Linked DNA regions of Homo sapiens: all the other regions are linked to region 1. Evidence: promoter capture Hi-C in human tissues and cell types (Jung and others, 2019). All regions are on one chromosome and are shown on one strand. The core of a region is centred on a gene start or on the middle of the fragment in contact, and the rest is flanking DNA. Distances in the headings are between cores, read along the strand shown.

Region 1 (5,539 bases), core at 3,040-5,539:
TCCTTTTTTTTTTTTTTAATTGAGACAGAGTCTCTCTCTGCTGCCCAGGCAGGAGTGCAATGGCACGATCTCAGCTCACTGCAACCTTCACCTCCCAGGGTCAAGTGATTCTCCTGCCTCAGCCTCCCGAGTAGCTGGGATTACAGGCATGTGCCATCACGCCTGGCTAATTTTTGTATTTTGAGTAGAGATGGGGTTTCACCATGTTGGCCGGGCTGGTCTTGAACTCCTGACCTCAGGTGATCAGCTCGCCTCAGCCTCCCAAAGTGCTGGGATTATAGGTCGGAGCCACCGCCCCCAGCCTTGTTTTTCTATGGGAAAAGATCCATAGCTTGGGGGCTCCCTGTTCTGAAGAGGATGCAGACAGTTGCTACCACGATAGCAAGAAAGAAGACAACCTGAGACTGAAAGCAGAATATTTAGAATTTCACAGTGGGGCTGCCAGTTGGGAGTGCACCTGCCTTGCTCTTCAGGAACTCTGTCATGGCTCGTCTTTCTTCCAGCCTAGCTGCACTGAGCAATAGGTAGCCTGATTCCAGAGTTGAATTTGCTGTAGCCAAAACAATTTAGTTTTAATTGGCCAGGCCAGTTGACACAGGCCACCCTGCCCTGAGGATTTTGGACCACCTGGCTGAACTTGTAGACTCTCTCCATGGCACTTCAGGCAATAGGTTTTGTCCATACTGTGCTTGTTCCATGCAGGAGGAGTGCCTGAAGTGCCTGCAGCCAAACCAGGCCCTGGCGATGCTCCTTTTCCCATGGGGGTGCTCCTGGAGCATCACTGGCCGTCCTGTCATTTCCTACGGCTGCGTCCTGGGCCAAAATACAAAGCAGCTTTGAGGTGTAACTTATTATTTTGCCTTATGCATTAAAAAGGCCAAATAACATTAAAAATCAGTTATCTAAAGTATTTTGTTTTGTTTTGTTTTGTTTTTTGAGACAGAGTCTCACCCTGTTGCCCAGGCTGGCGTGCAATGGCGCGATCTCGGCTCACTGCAACCTCTGCCTCCTCGGTTCAAGTGATTCTCCTGCCTCAGCCTCCTAAGCAGCATCTGCACCACCACACCCGACTAATTTTTTGTATCTTTAGTAGAGACGGGGTTTCATCATGTTGGCCAGGCTGGTCTCGAACTCCTGACCTCATGATCCACCTGCCTCAGCCTCCCAAAGTGCTGAGATTATAGGCGTGAGCCACTGCGCACAGCCTACAGTTTTAACATTTTTTTTAACGGTTATGTTAGCTAGAATGTTTGACAATGAGGAGGAGAAAAATCTGAGTGCTGAAGGGTCCATAAAGGTCTTTCTTTTTCTTTTTTTTCTTTTTGAGACAGGGTCTCAGTCTGTTGCTCAAGCTGGAGTGCAGTTGTGCCATCATGGCTCACTACAAACTCCACCTCCCAGGCTCAAGCAATTCTCCCACTTCTGCCTCTGGAGTAGCTGGGACTACAGGCACCTGCCACCACACTCTGCTAATTATATTTTTTGTAGAGACAAGAGTTTAGCCTTGTTGCCCAGGCTGGTCTCCAACTCCTGGGTGGCAAGCAATCCTCCTGCCTCAGCAACCCAAAGTGCTGAAATTACAGCAGTGAGCCACAACTCCTGGCCCATAAAGGTCTTTCTAAATCAAAACCAGACCCTCTTGTTGTCTTCTGCCCAGTCTGCTCATGGTTCTAATTTCCAAGTGTATATTCTTTTTCACCCACGTTGTAATGTTTGTTGACTTAAACCATATAGCGCTATAGATGATGGGGAGAAAACCTGTTGGATCACATTATTCAAAACTGTTTCCCAGAGTCGCAGGAAAACAATAGGTACCTCCTTGGAAATCTCCACTGTAGGGACAAGTCATCAAGGCTCAGCACCTCCCAATTTTTGCAAAAGGCACTATGACAAATCAAGGAACGCCTGTGCCTTACTCTTACCACTAGGTGTCACACAAAACAATCAGGAATAAACACCAAGATCCTGAAGGCTACCAGAAATATAAAACCATAGAAGGTGGTGCAAAAAAACCTTATTCCTCAGATATTTTTATTTTTTATAACCATTTTTATACCTGAAGCCAAATATCTTCTTCTGATGTATCCTCTATAATTGGGACATTTAGAGTTTGATGTTTCTGTACTTGTTTAAAAGAAGTGACTATCCCCAGATGGGGGTCAGGGGACACCCACCCTTTATTTTCCCTAACAGTTGGAGTAGAAAATACTTTTGAGTACATTCCAAATTATAGTGTAGTCAGTCTGATTTTCACAGCGTGTTTTCAAAAGTGTTAATACTAAGACTGCTTTGGCCAAATGATTAATATACTGCCAAGGGGTTCCTGGGTAAATTTCTATGCATTTCAGTTTCTTTTTAGGGAAGTAGGAACAATATCTATCTTACAAGATTAGTTCTGAGAACAATGTGGTACATAAGGCGCTGGAATTCTTTCAAAAATTTATACCCTGACATTTCCAAGAGCCATGGTCACCCTTACAAAGGAGAGTTAGGCATGCATTTGTAGACAAGCAATATGACTTTTAAGCTAGAAAAGACCTTAAGTAACATTCAATCTAATCTTATTATAAAAGTTAAGTATACCACAAAAAAGTTAACTGACCTCTCCAACTAATGTGCAGTCAAGTAAAGATAGAACCTGGAATTGAGATGTCCCATTGCAGTCACTGTTTCACCTTGCCTCAATCATTGTAGATTTGCATATCATAAACCTGCAGAGACAATGGTGTCTATCCCTGGGAAGTTTTCATTGTAACATGTGATCATTATTACCCTGGAGGGTCTATCTGATTTTAATTTTTTTCCCTTCATACTTGGTCTCTCTCTATCGAGTCAGATTTCTTTCATTCTAATATTAGGGGAGGGGTGGAGATACGAAGAGAGGGGAAGGATTGGTTAGTACAAGGCCAGTCAAGGTAAAGATGATTGCAATAATCACCAGAAATCTCTGCAGAACTACAGAGGCCTCCTGGGACTAATTCTGAAGAGCTCTGACCGAAGTTTGCTTTATTTTGCCTGTACCAATTCTACCAAGTAGATGAATTCAGTCCATGGCTTGCAGGCTTGGAGGTGGAGGTGGAGTGGAGAGCATAAATTATATTTCTGCAGGTGAAACCAGAGCATAGTGAGCCGAAACCCCTTTCTACCCAGGTGGCGTGAATGGGTCCAACTGCTACTGTCCCCCAGGACAAGAGAGCAAGGAGGGGCGGGCAGGATGGGACTACCTTGAGCCTCCCGCAGGATGCCTGGCAACTACTTTCTTAGTGGTCCTTAAGGTCCAATCGCGGTTAAGGCACTAACTAAACTCATTCTTCAGCCTCCTTCTCTAAGTTCTCCTCGAATTTGGGTGCCCAGAAGTAGGCTCACGATCCTTTTTCTGCGGGAGCACAATGTAGGTCAGATAGCATAAACGAATAGCTACTTATGAACACAATAGCTACTCTGCTATTGCAAGGTATCCACAACCACCACTACAAACATTAACACCTTGCTTTACTTGGGAAACAAAAAAAATCATGGTCCTATTCAGCAGTTTCCCCATACAGGGAGCGTTTGCCCCTCCCCCAGTCAACAGGGCTGTTCATCCCTAGGAAGTGATTTGAGAGTTCTCCAAGGATTTAGGCTTTTCACTCCTCCAAAGCTTTCACAACTTCTACCTGGCGGGGGTGCGTGGGGGGGTGGGGGCGAAGCTAAAAGTTCCTTTGCTGCAAAGAGCCTGGTATAGGCAGAAACACCGGCGCGGCCTGCAGCCCCCTAACCACAGTGCGTCCTTCCCCTTAGAAGTCTGGGGAAAGCAAATCCCTACGCCCAGCCATCATTTCCACTCTTGCGTTTTCAAAAGATCAAAAAACGGAAAGGACCGGCAGGTTGGCAAACCCCAAAGAGGGACCGCCCATCAGGTCGGCGTCCTTGGGATCTCAGCAGCCGACGACCCCAATTCAAATCGATCGTGGGAAACCCCAGGGAAAGAAGGCTCACTTGCAGAGGGACAGGATTACAGGGTGCAGGCTGCAGGGAAGTACCGGGGGGAGGGGGCCTGGTCGGAAGGACTTTCCAGCCACTCGGCGCTCATCAAAAAGTTCCCTGTCCGTGACCCTAGTGGCTCATCGCAGGGAGTTTCTCCGATGAACCCCAGCTCAGGGTTTAGGCTTCTTTTTCCCCCTAGCAGAGGACGAAGCCAGTTCTCTTTTTCTGGTCTGACTGGCTTGGAAATTCCCCGAGCCTGACCCCGCCCCAGAGAAATCCCCAGCCAGCGTTTATAGGGCGCCGCGGCGGCGCTGCAGAGCCCACAGCAGTCCGTGCCGCCGTCCCGCCCGCCAGCGCCCCAGCGAGGAAGCAGCGCGCAGCCCGCGGCCCAGCGCACCCGCAGCAGCGCCCGCAGCTCGTCCGCGCCATGTTCCAGGCGGCCGAGCGCCCCCAGGAGTGGGCCATGGAGGGCCCCCGCGACGGGCTGAAGAAGGAGCGGCTACTGGACGACCGCCACGACAGCGGCCTGGACTCCATGAAAGACGAGGAGTACGAGCAGATGGTCAAGGAGCTGCAGGAGATCCGCCTCGAGCCGCAGGAGGTGCCGCGCGGCTCGGAGCCCTGGAAGCAGCAGCTCACCGAGGACGGGGACTCGTAAGTGGCGGAGGCCCGGGGCTGGGGGTCGTCGGGAGGGCGGGACGCGCGCGGCCTGGGGGTGGGAGGCGCCGGGCCTGGAGCCCGAGCCGGGGGACCAGCGATGCAGCCGGGCGGGCGCCGCGGCACCCCGGGGCTCCTGCACCGCCCCGAACGCTGCAGGGCTGCAGGGCCGCGCGGGGCACCGGCCCAACTCGGAGGGGCGGCGGCTGGGCCCTGGTGGATGGCAGCGTCGCCACACGCCCCCTCCCCCCAGACCCGTCCTCTAGGCCGGGGGCGGGGCGGCAGCGGGGACGCGAAGTCCCCGGTTGCATAAGGCGGGGCGGGAGTTTCTGGCCGCTGGCGGGCGCCGAGCAGCCGGGAGGGGAAGTACAGGGCGTTCCGAGCTGGCGGGAGGGCGGGGCGGTCTGGCCGGCGCCCGCCGGGGCCGCGGGGGGAGGGGGGCGGAAAGTCCCTGGGCGCCTGCCAGGAACACTCAGCTCATAATAACCTCGCGGAAAACACCGCGGCCTCGGCCTCCAGAAACCCCGGCCTTGCGCAATCCCCCGCAGCCCGCGCCTCCCTGGGCCCCACGCGGTGCACTCACCACCCCTGGGGTTTTTCCCTCTCTTCCCCACAGGTTCCTGCACTTGGCCATCATCCATGAAGAAAAGGCACTGACCATGGAAGTGATCCGCCAGGTGAAGGGAGACCTGGCCTTCCTCAACTTCCAGAACAACCTGCAGCAGGTGCGCCGCTTGCCTGGCCCGGGTTCTCTCTGACCCTGGGACGTAGCTGATGTAGCAGAGTCACCCCAGATCCTTTCTGAATTCAGGGCCACTGAGCACTATTTACCCTCACCTTTTACTTCACATCAGCCCACATCCTAGAGAGTGAAGGAAATTCCACTGATTTGGTGAGGTCTTTATGACCCACCTGG
Region 2 (5,491 bases), core at 2,287-4,786, 340 kb after region 1:
AGTGAGCCATCATCATGCCACTTTACTACAGCCTGGGCAACAGAGGAAGACCTTGTCTCAAAAAGAAAAAAATTTAAAAAAAAGGATTAGAATTCCTACGATTTTCATATTATCAGACAATGGCTTTAATACTTTGTTTCTAGGCAGGGTGCAGTGGCTCACACCTGTAATCTCAGCACTTTGGGAGGCCAAGGTGGGTGGATTACGAGGTCAGGAGTCTGGCCAACTCCTGTTGACCAGTCTGGCCAAGATGGTGAAATCCTGTCTCTACTAAAAACACAAAAATTAGCTGGGCATGGTGGCAGGTACCTGTAATCCCAGCTACTCGGGAAGCTGAGACAGGAGAATCATTTGACCCTGGGAGGTGGAGGTTGCAGTGAGCCGAGGTCGTACCACTGCACTCCAGCCTGAGCGACAGGGTGACTGTCTCAAAAAAAAAAAAAAAAATTGCTTCTTATACCTTTTAAAACAAAGTCTACATTAATGAAAAACAAAATTAACAGCCATCTATTGCTGGTGGAAGTTGAAGGAAATGCATAGCAGGTAACACATTTTTATTTAAAGAATATTCTGCCTGAGCACCATTCTGTCTATATAAAAGGATTCAAAAAGTAATCAAATACTCAGTTGGCAACTTCCCTAAATGGCATTTAAGATGTGCTTATCTTATCAGAGAAAAATTGAAAAAAACTATTCAGGTGGAAGTCTTTGGTTAGTTCTAAGCTTTAAAAATTTTTTCTGAACAGAAATGAGAATGTTGTCTAGCAAAAAAAAAAAAAAAAAAAAGATTCAATGGAAAAATCTCCTGAGTGGCTGAATACATTATGGTTTAATATATTAAACCATAATGTATTCTATTAATATTTAAAGTTTCCCTCCAAGGCAGAGCTTGCAGTGAGCCAAGATCGCACCACCGCACTCCAGCCTGGGCGAGAGAGAGAGAGACTCCGTCTCAAAAAAAAAAAAGTTTCCCTCCAAAAATATTATAGTTATTTAAGGGAAATAAAACCACCAGCAAGTTTACTTTATGAATGTAATTCTACATTAAGCTACAGCATTAAAAAACAACAAAAAAAAATATGGTGACAGACTAATATTAACATGAGCGTACATAAAAAATTAACCAGATGAAGTCATTTGCAATTCAGGCAGCTATAAAAAATATCAGAGAAATAGGCCCGGCTCGGTGGCTCACGCCTGTAATCTGGGATTACACTTTGGGATTGCACTTTGGGAGGCTGAAGCGGGCGGATCACGAGGTCAGCAGATCGAGACCATCCTGGCTAACACGGTGAAACCCTGTCTCTACTAAAAATACAAAAAAATTAGCTGGTCATGGTGGCGGGTGCCTGCATTCCCAGCTACTCGGGAGGCTGAGGCAAGGAGAATGGTGTGAACCTGGGAGGCGGAGCTTGCAGTGAGTCAAGATGGCGCCACTGCACTCCAGCCTGGACAACAGAGCAAGATTCCATCTCAAAAAAAAAATCAGAGAAATAAATTGTATCTCTTTTTGCTAAAGACTTAAGTAATTATTATTCTATCTCGGTTAATTTAGTCAACATGTATAGTCACATTTCCTAAGTATAAATTCTTCATTAACTTTATTAGGTTTTTCTGTGAAAATTTTACTTAGAATTCAAGTAAAATGTCCTCTCTCAGCTTCAGGCTGAGTTATAACATAAAGCTACCAACTGACAGTACAGTAACAGCTCATATTGCCTAAAAAAATCATTGTACTTTTTTGTTTGTTTGTTTTCGAGACAAAGTCATGTTCTGTTGCCCAGGCTGGAGTGCAGTCGCTCGATCTCGGCTCACTGCAACCTCCATCTCCCAGGTTCAAGGGATTCTCCTGCCTCAGCCTCCCGAGTAGCTGGTATTACAGGTGCATGCTACCACGCCCAGCTAATTTTTGTATTTTTAGTAGAGACGAGGTTTCCCCATGATGGCCAGGCTGGTCTCAAACTCCTGACCTCAGTGATCTGCCCACCTTGGCCTCCCAAAGTGCTGGGATTACAGGTGTGAGCCACTGCACCTGGCCCATTGCACTCTTAAAGGCATGAAGTACCAAAAGGGATTTTTTTTTTTTTTTTTTTTTTGAGACAGAGTCTCGCTCTGTGGTTAAGGCTGGAGCACAGTAGGGTGGTCTCTGCTCACTGCAATCTCTGCCTCCTGGATTCAAGCGATTCTCCTGCCTCAGCCTCCCGAGTAGCTGGGATTACAGGCTTGTGCCACCAAGCCCAGCTAATTTTTGTATTTTTAGTAGAGATGGAGTTTCAGGGTTTTACCATGTTGGCCAGGCTGGTCTCAAACTCCTGGCCTCAAGTGATCTGCCCACCTCAGCCTCCCAAAGTGCTGGGATTACAGGCAAGAGCCATGTAATGTGGCCCAAAAGAAAAAATATAATTTTAAAGCTTTAAACTTGATATTTCAAAATTGGAATCATAAAGCAAATCAATTTTATAAACTCTAAAATGATACTAAATCTGGGTGCAGGACTAGATTTGTTATTTCAAAAAGAAAATGACACTAAATAGGAACTATGGAGAAAATTTATTTATTTATTTTGAGATGGCGTTTCACTCTTGTTGCCCAGGCTGGAGTGCAATGGCGGGATCTTGACTCACTGCAACCTCCACCTCCCAGGTTCAAGCGATTCTCCTGCCTCAGCCTCCCAAGCGGCTGGGATTACAGGCACCCGCCCCCATGCCTGGCTAATTTTTTGTATTTTTTTTTTAGTAGAGACGGGGTTTCACCATGTTGGCCAGGCAGGTCTCAAACTCCTGACCTCAGGGATCCACCCACCTTGGCTTCCCAAAGTGCTGGGATTACAGGCAAGAGCCACCATGCCTGGCCCCAAAGGGAAAATATAATTTTAAAGCTTTAAAATTGATATTTAAAAATTGGAGTCATAAATCAATTTTATAAACTCTAAAATGATACTAAAATCTGAATATAGAACTAGATCTTTTTTTTTTTTTTTTTTTGAGATGGAGTCTCACTCTGTTGCCAGGCTGGAGTGCAGTGGCGCGATCTTGGCTCACTGCAATCTCCGACTCCCGGGTTCAAGCCATTCTCCTGCCATTCATCCGCCTACCTCAGCCTCCCAAAGTGCTGGGATTACAGGCGTGGTCCACCGCACCCGACCTTTTTTTTTTTTTAAATGATACTAAATAGGAACTATAGAGAAAATTTAAAAAATAAGTTATGGGGTTTCAATCTCAAATCGAGTTCTAAAATTACCTTAAGTAAAAAAAAAAAAAAAACCGCAAATAAAATTTCTTGTGCTACTTGCTATATTTGCTTTATTAATTAATACTACCATATATTTTTCTTTTCTTTTTTTTTTTTTTGAGACAGGGTCTCACTTTGTTGCCCGGGCTGGAGTACAGTGGCATGATCATGGCTCACTGCAGCCTTGAATTCCTGGGCTCAAGCAATCCTCTTGCCTCAGCCCTCCAAAGCAAAGATTATAGGCATGAGGCACTGTGCTCAGCCAAGTCACTTTTCAGTGAGTTTTCATAGATATTATCTCATTTAATCTTTAAAAACAACTACAGGTAGGTGAGGCAAGTTATCTCTCTTCTTTGTAATCATGGAACTTTAACTACAATGAAAGTTAAGTCTTTGTCAAAGCAAGGTGACTACTACAGGACAGAGCCAGAACTAAAAACCAAGTTTCTGACATCTCATGGTACCTCTCAGTGAAGAAAATATAAAAAGATTTCTTATCACCCAGGGATCTGTTGGATTGGGCTTCACAACTCAGGGAAATTCCAACATGAATATGCTATATACATGGTCATTAAAGACCTTAATAGTGGATATAGACCTCTATCATAACAGCATGAGGAACTCTGGGCCCACTTCCCAGTAAAACTGATGAAATTTATTAAAGAATAAACATTTAAAGCACCTGGAAATGGTCTTAATGGCATATAAATGAATAAACATCTATTCAAGAAAATCTATGAAAATTTGGTAACAAAAGCAAACGTCTGTGGTAACTGAACTAAGACCACTCCCTCTCAGCACCCTCCCAGCAAAGGAAGGCAGAAACTGCACTTCAGACTGGTACAGCCAAGAATACAGGGTTCCCCCTCCCCTCAGCTTCCAGTTGGGTTTTCTTCTCAGGAGGAACAGAATATTAACCAGCACTTCTCATCTATTACTGAGGCCAATTTCCAGGTAAGTGTGGTTGACAGGGGGTGACTCTCTTCTTCCACCAGCCTCTGCTCACAGAATGGAGGCTCTACCTTGAGCATGGCACCACTGAGAACACCAGGGCCCTGATCGCCTTTACCCAGTTCATAAGGCAGCAGAGGCAAGTTCTACGCCAGCAGAGGCAAGTCAAAAATACTTACAGCTTTTTTTTTTAATATTATTATACTTTAAGTTTTAGGGTACATGTGCACAATGTGCCAGTTAGTTACATATGTATACATGTGCCATGCTGGTGTGCTGCACCCATTAACTTGTCATTTAGCATTAGGTATATCTCCTAATGCTGTCCCTCCCCCCTCCCCCCACCCCACAACAGTCCCCAGAGTGTGATGTTCCCCTTCCTGTGTCCATGTGTTCTCATTGTTCAATTCCCATCTATGAGTGAGATAAAAAAAAAAAAAAAGAAATGAGAAAAAAACAAATAGACATTTGTAAAACAAAGACTAAAAAAAAAAAAAAATACTTAAAGCTACTGACCCCACCTCCCATAAATGCTCAGCTCCTAAAGTGAAGGTGTTATTCAGACAGAAATGAGCCATTGTCCCCACCCCCAGCTCCAAAACCTTGGCTCAGAGATTGCCCTGAGTGAGAGGCAGAAGGGCGGGGCTGGGGTAGGGGAGCCAGCCAGGACAGGAAACAAAGCAGACAACTCCTAATCTCTTCCCAAAGGAACTGACTTCATTTGCAACACACCTAGAAAAGTCCAAGGCTAAGGGTGTTCTCAAAAACACTGGAGATTGTAGCAAAATGTACAGTGGTCCCCCTTTATCTGCAGGGGCTGTGTTCCAAGACCTCCCATGGGTGACTGAAACTGCGGATAATACTGAACCCTATACTGTTTTTTCCTATATACACATGCCTATGATAAATTTTAATTTATAGATTAGTCACAATAAGAGATTAACAATAGCTAATAATAGAACAATTATCACAATACACTGTAATAATAGTTATATGAATGTGGTCTCCCAAAATATCATGTTGTACTGTATGCACCCTTCTTCTGATGAAGGAGGTACCAAGTGTGACAGTATGAGATTTTATGATGCTACTCAGAACGGTGATCAACTTAAAATTTATCAATTGTTTATTTCTGGAATTTTCCATTTAATATTTTCAGAGCACAACTGACCATGGGTAACCACAAAAAGCAAAACTACAAATAAAGGGGGGACTACTGTAACTGGGAGAAGATTCTTAGATTTAATAAAAATACAGGCTAAACTATAGGCTAGCTAATTTGCAGGAAAGAATAGGAGTGGAGAATAGA
Region 3 (6,179 bases), core at 1,654-4,153, 400 kb before region 1:
CAGTTTTCAAGAAAATGTAAAGCTTCTAAATATAGTGGAGATTGTGATCTTTTTGTTTTCATTCTTCTTGAGAGTTAAGCCATTGAAATAAAGATTTAGCCGAGAATAGGACACAGTAAGTTAATGTGTGAATGCAGGCGAGGGATTCACAGGTAATGGCAGTTTGAAATTGAACACTTAATGGAGCTTGACACCTACTTGGGATAAGCTGTAGGTTAGGTAATGACACAGCTATAAAGTTGAGTTCCAATAAAGTATCGAGATTTCCTAAATTAAAGGCCATACTTTATTTATAGACTGGTTAAGGAATTATTTATATATACTTTTTTGGCATAGAGTTTTTTTCCATCTGGCAGACATGGAAAATTAAAAGGTAAATTAAGAGAGAGGTCACACATATAAGGCATTTTGTAGGACTTAGCTTGCTTGGTTTGAAAACAAAACAAAACAAAAACAAGTCTTTTATTGTTGTCGTTATTTTGTTTGAAATACAGTTAATGTAATTTCTAAGAAAATGAATGAGAGAAAGTAGAATGACAAAAACTAGTGTCTTTTAGAGGTCTGCCAATCAGGTATTTGATTTTGCAGATGGAAAATCCTTTCTGGAAGTAGGTGCGGGCTTTAAATAAGGTAAACACAATGAGGAAACTAGTTTGCAGAGTAATTGGGCATTGCCAGTTACACAGGCTTTTGATTTTTGTTTGGTCCCATAGTTCATAGTTCATATGGGACCAAACAGAACTGCCATTCACTCAGGGTACTTATGGGAGGATTCAGTGCATCTATATGTATGAGAACATAATCATAATTTAAACATCCGCTGTAAACTTTTTTCCTGGCATGTGTTCCCACTGTAGGACAATCCAAGTTAAATTTATAGAACTTGACTCTGAAGATTTAGATTTAAATCTGGTATGTTTATTGATACTGTTGCATAATTGATTTGTAAAAACTAGAAGTCAGGGTTTTCTTAAAACAGAAAAAAAAGCCTTGTCTGATTTCTAAAGCTGTTATCCTTTCTACCTACCCCCTCCCCCCCATTTTACAACTAATGGTAATGATATTATAAATTAGCACATGTAAATTGGCTAACATAATGCTTGGCATATAGTGGGTATTGACTTAGTGTTAGTTTTGTTCTACTTTACAGCTAACAGTTCAGTCCTCTTGATATAAAAATAAAAAGTGCTTATTTAGCTAAAAATATTTATTGTTAAATAATTCTGACAGCTTTATTGAGGTATAATTGGCACACAATAAACTGCACATATTTAAAGTACATAATTGAATAATTTTTACATATGTATATCTCCTGAAACCATCATAACAAATATTTAAAATATCCAATCAAGATAACAAATATAGACAGTGACAATCAGGATAATATATGTATAATCAGCTGGGTGCGGTAGCTCATGCCTGTAATCCCAGGACTTGGGGAGGCCGAGGTGGGCGGATCACGAGGTCAGGAATTCAAGACCAGCCTGGCCAACAGAGTGAAACCGGGTCTCTACTCTACTGAAAATACAAAAATTAGCCAGGCATGGTGGCGTGCACCTGTAGTCCCAGCTACTCAGGAGGCTGAGGCAGGAGAATCGCGTGAACCTGGGAGGCAGAGGTTGTGGTGAGTCGAGATCACGCTACTGCACTCCAGCCTGGGCAACAGAGCGAGACTCCGTTTCAGGAAAAAAAAAAAAAAAAGAAAAAGAAAAAATATATATATGTATGTATGTATAACCTCCCAAAGTTTTCTCATGCCCCTTTGTAATCTCTTTCTCCCACCTCAGTTGTACCCTCCCACCTTTCCTGAGCAACCACTAATCTGCTGTCACCCTAGATTAGTTTGCATTATCTAGAGTTTTATATAAATGGGATTATACAGCATAAAAATGGAATTATGCAGTACGGTCATTTTATGTTTGATTTCTTTTTTTTTTTTTTTTGACACGGAGTCTCACTCTGTCACCCAGGCTGGAATGCAGTGGCGCGATCTCGGCTCACTGCAACCTCCGCCTCCCGGGTTCAAGCAATCCCCCTGCCTCAGCCTCTTGAGTAGCTGGGATTACAGGCGCACGCCACCAAGCCTGGCTAATTTTTTCTTTTTTTTTTTTCTTTTGTATTTTAGTAGAGACAGGGTTTCACTGTGTTGCCCAGGCTGGTTTCGAACTCCTGAGCTCAGGCAGTCCCCCCGCCTCAGCCTCCTAAAGTGCTGGGATTACAGGCATGAGCCACGGCGCCCCGCCTTTTTTTTTTGTATTCCTAATAGAGATGGGGTTTCACCATGTTGGTCAGGCTGGTCTTGAACTCGCGACCTCGTGATCCGCCTGCCTCAGCCTCCCAAAGTGCTGGGATTACAGGCGTGAGCCACCACACCTGGCCTTGGTTTCTTTTTCTCAGCCTCATTATTTTGAAATTAATCTGTATCCTGGTATGTTAATAGTTCATTGCTTTTTTTTCTTGTGACAGGGTCTTCTGTCACTCTGGCTGGAGTACCGTGTTGCAAACGTGGCTCATTGCAGCCTTGACCTTTCAGGGTCCAGCGATCCTCCTTCCTCTACCTCCCTAGTAGCTGGGACATGCACCACCGTGTATGGCCAATTAAAAAAAATTTTTTTTTGTAGAGATGGGGTCTCATGTTGCCCAGGCTGGTTGCAAGCTCCTGGACTCAAGCAATCCTCCCATCTCAGCCTCCCAAAGTATTCTGGGATTACAGGTGTGAGCCACTGTACCTAACTGTTAATCTCTTTTTATTTCTGAATAGTTACTCACTATTTATTTATTTATTTATTTATTTATTTATTTATTTATTTATTTTTGAGATGGAGTCTCACTCTGTCACCCAGGCTGGAGTGCCATGGCACGATCTCGGCTCACTGCAATCTCTGCCTCCCGGGTTCAAGCAAGTCTCCTGCCTCAGCCTCCTAAGTAGCTGGGATTACAAGTGTGCACCATCAGGCCCAGCTAATTTTTGTATTTTTAGTAGAGACAGGGTTTCACCATGTTGGCCAGGCTGGTCTTGAACTCCTGACCTCGTGATCCTCAAGCCTCAGCCTTCCAAAGTGCTGGGATTACAGGTGTGAGCCACCGCGCCCAGCCGTTATTCACAATTTTTTGTTTGTTTTTGAGATGGAGTCTCGCTCTGTCGCCCAGGCTAGAGTGCAGTGGCTTGATCTTGGCTCACTGCAACGTCCACCTCCCCAGTTCAAGTGATTCTCCTGCCTCAGCCTCCCAAGTAGCTGGGATTACAGGTGGGTGTCACCATGCCTGGCTAATTTTTGTACTTAAATAGAGATGGGGTTTCGCCATGTTGGCCAGGCTGGTCTTGAACTCCTGACCTCAGGTGATCCACCCACCTCGGCCTCCCAAGACCATTGTATAACTTCTTTGATGAGTTTGTGTTTAAATCTTTTACATGTCTTTTAATTTTTTTGCTTTCTTAATTCAGTTTTGAAAGTTCTTTAGGCCAGGTGCAGTGGCTCATGCCTGTAATCTCAGCACTTTGGAAGGCTGAGGCAGGTGGCTCACTTGAGGTCAGGAGTTCGAGACCAGCCTGGCCAAGATGGTGAAACCCCATCTCTACTAAAAATAACCAGGTGTGATAGCACATGACTGTAATCCCAGCTATTCAGGAGGCTGAGATGGGAGAATTGCTTGAACCTGGGAGGTGGAGGTTTGCAGTGAGCCAAGATTGTGCAACTGCACCCTAGCCTGGGTAACAGAGTGAGACTGTCTCAAAAAAAAAAAAAAAAGTTCTTTATATATTCTAGATACAGATACTGTATGAGACACATGATTTGCAAAGATTTTTTTTTCCCCAGTCTTTGGGCTGTCTCTTCGTTCTCTTAAAGTTTTCTTTGAAGAAGAAGTTGTTTCTTTGAAGAAGCAGAAATGGTTAATTTTTATTGTCTATATATCAATTTTTAATTTATTTTTTTTATTTTGTATCTAAAATCTTTGCCTAACCCATGATCACAAAGATTTTCTTCTATGCTTTTTTCTAGAAGTTTTACAGTTTTAGGATCTATTTTCCTCTATGATTCATCTGAGTTTTAACTATGGTATGAGGTGGCTAGAAGTTTACGTTTTTGCATGTGAATATCCAGTTGTTCCAGCTCTGTTTGTTGAAAAAGGCTATCTTTACTGAATTGCCTTTGTACTTTTGCCAAAATTTAGTTTTCCAGAAATATGTGTGGGCCTATTTCTGGACTCTTATTTTGTTCCAGTGATCTGTTTATCTTTGTTGGTGCCAGTACCGCAGTGTTTGATTACTGTAACTTTATAATAAATCTTGAAATCAAGTAGTGTTGTCCCTCCTACTTTGTTCTTCCTTTTCAAAGTTTCTTTTTTTCCCAAATGCCAGGTCCTTTACATTTCCATATGAGTCTAAAGATTAGTTGAGCTTGGTGTGGTGGCTCACACCTGTAATCCCAGCACTTTGGGAGGCTCAGGTGGGCAGATTGCTTGAGCCCAGGAGTTTGAGACCAGCTTGGACAACATGCTGAAACCCCATCTCTCCAAAAAAGAGAAAAAAAAGAAATAGCTGGGCATGGTAGTGTGTGCCTGGGATCCCAGTCACCTGGGAGGCTGAGGTGAGAGGATCACCTGGGCCTGGGAGGTCGAGGTTGCAATGAGCCATGATTGCACCACTGCACTCCAGCCTGGGTGACACAGTGACACTGTATTTTTTTTTTTAAAGGTCAGTTTCTTAAAAAAAAAAAAAACCCACCACCACCAAAAAACCTATTGGGATTTTGGTTGGGATTATGTTGAATCTATAGATCAATTTGGGAAAATTGACGATATTGAATACACTGATTCATGAACAAGGCGTTTCTCCACCTACTTAGGACTTCTTTAATTTCTCTCAGCAGTGTTTTGTAGTTCAGTGTGCAGGTCTTATACATCTTTTGTCAGACTTATACCTAAATACTTTCTACTTTGATCTTTTGTAAATGTTACCTTTATATCTATTTCTGATTGGATCTCATATCAGGAAATACCACTGATTTATGTATAGTGAGCTTATGTCCTACAAACCTGCTGAACTGACTTAGTTCTGTTATTTATTTATTTTTTTGAGACAGAGTCTCACTCTGTTGCCCAGGCTGGAGTGCAGTGGCATGATCTCAGCTCACTGCAACCTCCGCCTCCCAGGTTCAAGCAATTCTCCTGCCTCAGCCTACTGAGTGGCTGGGATTACAGGCACACACCACTGAGCCTGGCTGATTTTTGTGTTTGTAGTAGAGACGGGGTTTCACCATGTTGATAAGGCTGGTCTCGAACTCCTGACCTCGTGAGCCACCTGCCTTGGCCTCCCAAAGTCCTGGGATTACAGGTGTGAGCCACAGCACCCAGCCAGTTCTGTTAGTTTTTTGTAGATTCTTTTGGATATTTTTCATAGAGAATCAGTCTGCAAATACAGTTTTACTTCTTCCTTTCTAATCTGGATGCCCTTTATTTCTTTTTCTTGCCTTACTGAAGTGACTAGAACCTCCAATGTGACATAGATTAGAAGTAATGAGAGTGGGCAGTCTTGTCTTGTTCTTGATCTTAGGGGTAAAGCAATCGATTGATTTTTTTCACTGTATAATATGATCCTAACTGTAGGTTTTTTGTAGATGCCCTTTATCAGATTTAGAGAGTTTCATTCTATTCCTGGTTGGCTGAGGGTTTCTATCAGGAATGGATGTTGGATTTATTGAATGCTTTTTCTGTTTCTGTTGGTATAAACAGAAGATTTCATCTAAGTTGTCAAATTTATAGGTATAAATTGTTGATTATACTCTCTTATTATCCTTTTAATATTATAGGATTCATGTCCAGGCATGGTGGCTCATGCTTATAATCCCAGCACTTTGGGAGGCCAAGGCGGGTGGATCACTAGAGGTCAGGAGTTCGAGACCAGCCTGACCAACATACTGAAACCCTGTGTGAACTAAAAATACAAAAGTAGCTGGACCTTGTGGCGCATGCTTGTAGTCCCAGCTACTAGGGAGGCTGAGGCAGGAGAATCACCTGAACCCAGGAGGCAGAGGTTGCAGTGAGCCAAGATTATGCCACTGTACTCCAGCCAGGGCAACAGAGCGAGACTCTATCTCAAATGTGTGTGTGTGTGTGTGTGTGTGTGTGTGTGTGTGTGTCTGTGTATATATATATAGCAGGACCCATGGTAATGTTAT
Region 4 (5,352 bases), core at 1,059-3,558, 410 kb after region 1:
AGAATTAGCCGGGCATGGTGGTGCACGTCTGTAATCCCAGCTACTCGGGAGGCTGAGGCAGGAGAATTGCTTGAACCCGGGAGGCGGAGGTTGCACTCCAGCCTGGGCAACAAGAGTGAAACTCCTTCTCAAAAAAAAAAAAAAAAAGGTCCCTAAGAAAACTCAATAATCCTTTCATTAATATTTTAATACAGATGAATATTCCATAAAAAACATATTTAAAAATTCTGAAATATTTGTAGTGCTAACGCTTTTTTATCCACTGAGTATAGAATCACAGCATAATCTTCATATACTTTTACCTTCACAAGTTCTTTAAATACAGCATGCTGAATCATTTTTCTTTTGTTAAGACCAGATGCCATCTCTTCAAGATCAATAGCAGACCTTTATGATGGTGGTTGGTGATTGGGGTGGGGAGGAGAAAATCAGTTAAGAAACTCTAAGAAAAAGAAGCTTCTGCTCCAAAGAATGTACAACATTCAGTCATTCATATTAATAGTCTTCCAATTAACATGCATGTAATTACTACAGACTCGTAAGTCTATATCATAAAGAGTTTTCCCATGAAGTATTAGATGCAAGACTTTGGTTTTCAAGGATTACACTTGAAAGTATAAATATAAATTTGTCCTAATATTACCACAAAGAACTAGTTTTATTTACTTTTCTTGCAGCTTATATATTTTATATATCTTTACAACAGAAATCAGGACTACTTTCTCTATTTCTTTTCTTTCTTTTTTCTTTTTTTTTTTTTGAGACAGTCTCACTATCAGCCAGGATGGAGTGCAGTGGCATGATCTCGGCTCACTGCAACCTCTGTCTCCCAGGCTCAAGCAATTCTCCTGCCTCAGCCTCCTGAGTAGCTGGGATTACAGGCGTGTGCCACCATGCCCGGCTAATTTTTTGTATTTTTAGTAGAAACAGGGTTTCACCATGTTGGCCAGGCTGGTCTCGATCTCCTGACCTCGTGATCCACCCACCTCAGCCTCCCAAAGTGCTGGGATTACAGGCGTGAGCTACTGCGCCCGGCTACTTCCTCTATGTCTAAATGCTTAAATGCTGGTAGTCCCACAACTAATCTCAGTCTAACAATACAAGGAGAGATGTCTAAAGCATGGTAAGAGATAAGACTCAAGCAGTTAACTGAGCTACCTGTATTGCTCTGTGTGTCCTACCAACTCAGTGCCTCTCCCAATGAATATGATAACTGAGACCAAACACATTAATTCTTCATTCAAATATGAAACAGAGAAACCAAAAGGAGAACAAAAGAGAATACAGTCCTCCAATAATGAAGGTTGATTAAGATCATCTTAAGCCTAAAAAGAATAAAATGGCAGTACTTTTCTATGAAGAGCCTGAATTGTTAAAAGGCTTTATATATTAAAATACTATACAGTATTTAATCAAATCCATTCAAATAAAAGACTAGTAAAATAGAAAAAAATATGTAATTAAATGAAAATCACATGTAGTTTATTCTTTGAACCATCATTATGGAAACGTACTACACATGCTCTCGCCCAACATATGAGCTCCAACACAGCACTTTTCCAGTGGTGCAGAGCAGAAATGATTCCTGATACAGCAAACACTTCCAGTTAGCACCTCTTTCCAGTAAACTAAACTAAACTGTGCCTGTGTTTTACCTGATTGATTTAACTTACTTAACATTTTCTCTTAGTTGCTTCACTAGTTTAATATTAACATCTGCTTCCAACAAAGCGGTACAGACTTCTTTTAGCATAGCATTCAATACCTGAAAATAAAGAAATAAATGAAATTTAAAGCACCCAATGTTTCATTTCAGTTCCATAAAAACAATTGTTGATCACTTACATAACCACAGCTTAGTAATACCACACTACTGGGTTTTTCAGTTAGTTCTTGGAGAGATAATTTTATTAAATGTTTAGTCATTTTGTCAAAATAAGAGACCCCATTTAGTTTTACACCCAAGTATTAATTGCCACAATTTTATTCCTATATAAAAGTAATTATAGGCCCGGCATGGTGGCTCACGCCTGTAATCCCAACACTTTGGGAGGCCGAGGTGGGCAGACCACTTGAGGTCAGGAGTTCAAGAACAGCCTGGCCAACATGGCGAAACCTCATCTCTACTAAAAATACAAAAATGAGCTGGGCATGGTGGCACGTGCCTGTGATCCCAGCTACTCAGGAGGCTGAGGCAGGAGAATCACTTGAACTCGGGAGGCGGAGGCTGCAGTGAGCCAAGATAGTGCCACTGCACTCCAGCCTGGGTGACAGAGTGAGACTTTGTCTCAAAAAAAAAAAAAAAAAACCACACACACACACACACACACACACACACACACACACACATACACACAAAGTAATAATAAAGACAATATTCAAGCCAAAAAAAGTTACTACAAATAGATGTTGCCTTTGATGTTTTCTACTTTATTGAAGAGCTCCTGTCACTATTATGTAGTGGTATATAGTTACAATATTTGCTTTTCTTTTTTTTTTTTGGAACAGAGTTTCAGAGTTTCGCTCTTGTTGCCCAGGCTGGAGTGCAATGGCGTGATCTCGGCTCACTGCAACCTCCGCCTCCCAGATTCAAGAGATTCTCCTGTCTCAGCCTCCCTAGTAGCTGGGATTACAGGCGCCTGCCACCACGCCCAGCTAATTTTTTGTATTGTTAGTAGAGATGGAGTTTCACTATGTTGGCCAGGCTGGTCTCAAACTCCTGACCTCAGGTGATCCGCCCGCCTCAGCCTCCCAGAGTGCTGGGATTACAGGTGTGAGCTACCACACCCGGCTTAATATTGCTTTTCTTAAAAACTGGACAATTATGGAAGTAAATGTGACAGAAGGAAGTTACCCAGTCTTGTCATTTTTATTAGAGCAGCAGAATACAGGTGGAAAGGAGGCTACTCTCCATTAATAACTTATTATCATCATATGTTTGTTGAATTGCAAGGCACTGTAGTTAAAAGGTCATAAAATTAAAAGTCTTAAGAAAAGATGAGGCTTTAGCCACTCATGTATATAAAGTGCTCACACACTAGAATGTAAACTCTATGAGGTTAGGAATTTTAGTCTATTTTGTTCACCGCTGTATCTCTGGTGCCAGCAAAAATGTCTGCAAAAACATAGGCCCTCAAATATTTCTTGAATGTTCTCTCTCCTTCAACTCACTTCATATGCCCTACAGAGAGAGGCTTACCAGTTTTCTCTATCCCTCATTAAACGGGTCTGCTAAAATTCGAACTGATCTTTCACTAGAGGGCTTTCTCCTTGTTAATTAGCTAGCAGCACAGTATCAAGAACAGAGAAGCTGCCAATTTAAGCAACAGCTGTTACTCTACCTCCCACCAAGAACTCCTCCCCTGGTTTCCTTTCCTTTCTACTATAAACACAAAGAACATAAGGGCTACACAACAGGGAAAACTGTTTGGAAAGTCGTTTTATATATTTGGAATTACAAGACCAAACAATGATTTAAGTTATGATTTATTTTTTAATAAGCAGTATTAGAAAAAGCCCTGTATGAGGAACTAGGAAAAAAAGGTTCTAATCCTGGTTCTTCCAAATAAATAATCACATGAAACTGACTTTGGTTCTGTTAAATAAGAGGCTGAACTAAATGATCTCTAAGATGGTCTCAAAATTATTTAATTCCGTTAGCTTAGTATTGAGATCAAATTCCATGTAAGAATTCTACGTAAGTTTTCTAACCTCCAAGTTAGAAAGTTTATTTGAAACTTAAAACCATTTTCTATGGTAAATGCTATTTTTCCTATTTTATACACTAAGGAATCTAAGGTTTAGTTGCCCCAATTTACATCGTACAGCTGCTAAATAGCTACAGTGGGACTAACCAATGTCTTCTAACACCAAATTCAGTACTTTTCCATTGTTGATACAAAATATAAAGTATACTTGTGAACCACAGTCAACTTTTTCAATTAATAAACCACTAAGATACAATCTGTGGGGGACAAATGGAACAAAGAAATATCTTAAAATAATATAGCCGGGAAGAAAAGTATTTTAATATCATCTAAGGAGTGGCTTACAAAATCTCCAAAAAACTGAAGATTTCAAAGAAAATGAATCAAAACAGACAAGATGGAAATGCTAGCCTTTTATAAAAATGCTAAATAAAAGTCACAAAGAAAAGGACAGATAAGCACAGGCCTAGCCAAGAAGAAAGAAGCAGAGTAATGAAATTTTAGGTCTATATCAATAAAGAAAACAAAAGTACAGTTCCAGATTTAAGCCACTTTCAAAAGATAAAATATGTTATTTTTACATGTAAGTTAAGGTCAGGTTTTTTTCGATTTTTTTTTGGAAAATTCTTTATAGAAAGTTGAAGTAAATTTGAAGTTGTAGTTAATTTCTCAATAAAACACTACTTACTGTATCCACTTTTAGGCTTTTATCTACAAGTATTAAGTCTACATCAAAATACATATAAATACAGGGATTATGAATAAGCCATCTTCCCAATGCTAGTGACAATATACAATCATATATATTTCATACAATATTTTACATACCTCTTCATTGATAATGGTGGCATTGCTCAACGAGCGTAATGCTGATGTTATTTTTCTTCCAAGGTCTGCTAGAACCATCTTGACAGCTTTAAGATGTACTTACGAAGAACTCTACAGCAGAAAAAAAATTAAGTGAGAATAATCAATTTCACTTCCCATGACTGAAGAGTTCTAAAGAGTATTTAAGTTCAAATTACTCTAGTGTTTAGATACTGTAAGATCACCTTCCATAGCCTCAACCTGTGCTTAAATACAGTCATGTCATAAAGATAAAACTGCTACTTGGTTATGATGCCTTATATTTGAATACTTAATTGGAATCTTGTATATGAATCAGCAAATTTAACATGTCAAATACCATACTTTGAGGAAATAATGACATAATCTCACATTAAATATGTTCTTTTTTTGGCACAATACTTATGAATAACTGAATTATGTATCATGCACATTTTTAAATTAAAAGAGGAGAAAAAGGTGAAATCTCCAGGAATACTGCCTAATTTCCCACATTAAAGGACTCTGCAAACTATTTTGATTCTTGCTCCTAAGCAAAAAAAAGAAAAAAGGTTTTAATAACTTTTCTAGTACAAAAAAAGCAACTGTTCAGCTATCAGCTATATCGAAGCGCTATACTAAGTGATTCCACATACATTATTTCATTTTATTCTTCTAACCACAAAGGAAAGAGGTATATTATTTTACTCTTTTTTTTTTTTTTTTGAGACAGGGTCTCACTCTGTCACCCAAGCTGGAGTGCAGTGGTGTGATCACAGCTGACTGCAGCCTCAACTTCCTGGGCGCAGGAAATCCTCCT

What was found. The method cuts DNA at HindIII sites, captures the fragments that hold promoters and counts their contacts. A contact is called where the count stands out against the background at its distance.
Region 2: a fragment that was not itself captured here is called in contact with the fragment with the promoter of NFKBIA in region 1 in 3 of the 25 tissues and cell types used here (dorsolateral prefrontal cortex, liver and lymphoblastoid cells).
Region 3: a contact is called between a fragment that was not itself captured here and the fragment with the promoter of NFKBIA in region 1, in 1 of the 25 tissues and cell types used here (hippocampus).
Region 4: a fragment that was not itself captured here is called in contact with the fragment with the promoter of NFKBIA in region 1 in 1 of the 25 tissues and cell types used here (lymphoblastoid cells).

The regions. Positions count from the first base shown.
Region 1 is chr14:35,403,499-35,409,037 of GRCh38, reverse strand. It overlaps NFKBIA (NFKB inhibitor alpha), which reads left to right and starts at 4,289. Exons shown (of 6, transcript NM_020529.3): 1 at 4,289-4,620; 2 at 5,240-5,348. The coding sequence starts at 4,394. RefSeq lists enhancers at 1,791-1,850, 3,828-4,227, 3,432-4,303, 5,408-5,457, 5,488-5,539 and silencers at 4,298-4,467, 4,618-5,207. The HindIII fragment of the contact is 5,540 bases long and covers 1,769-5,539 here.
Region 2 is chr14:35,060,653-35,066,143 of GRCh38, reverse strand. All of the region lies in intron 2 of FAM177A1 (family with sequence similarity 177 member A1), which reads right to left. Among named protein-coding and RNA genes, the nearest start is that of FAM177A1, 17 kb to the right of the region's middle. The HindIII fragment of the contact is 3,938 bases long and covers 1,568-5,491 here.
Region 3 is chr14:35,801,206-35,807,384 of GRCh38, reverse strand. All of the region lies in intron 1 of RALGAPA1 (Ral GTPase activating protein catalytic subunit alpha 1), which reads left to right. Among named protein-coding and RNA genes, the nearest start is that of RALGAPA1, 5.0 kb to the left of the region's middle. The HindIII fragment of the contact is 7,645 bases long and covers 1-6,179 here.
Region 4 is chr14:34,995,971-35,001,322 of GRCh38, reverse strand. It overlaps SRP54 (signal recognition particle 54), which reads right to left. Exons shown (of 16, transcript NM_003136.4): 2 at 4,536-4,646; 3 at 1,674-1,765; 4 at 303-387. The coding sequence starts at 4,613. Among named protein-coding and RNA genes, the nearest start is that of SRP54, 16 kb to the right of the region's middle. The HindIII fragment of the contact is 6,797 bases long and covers 1-5,352 here.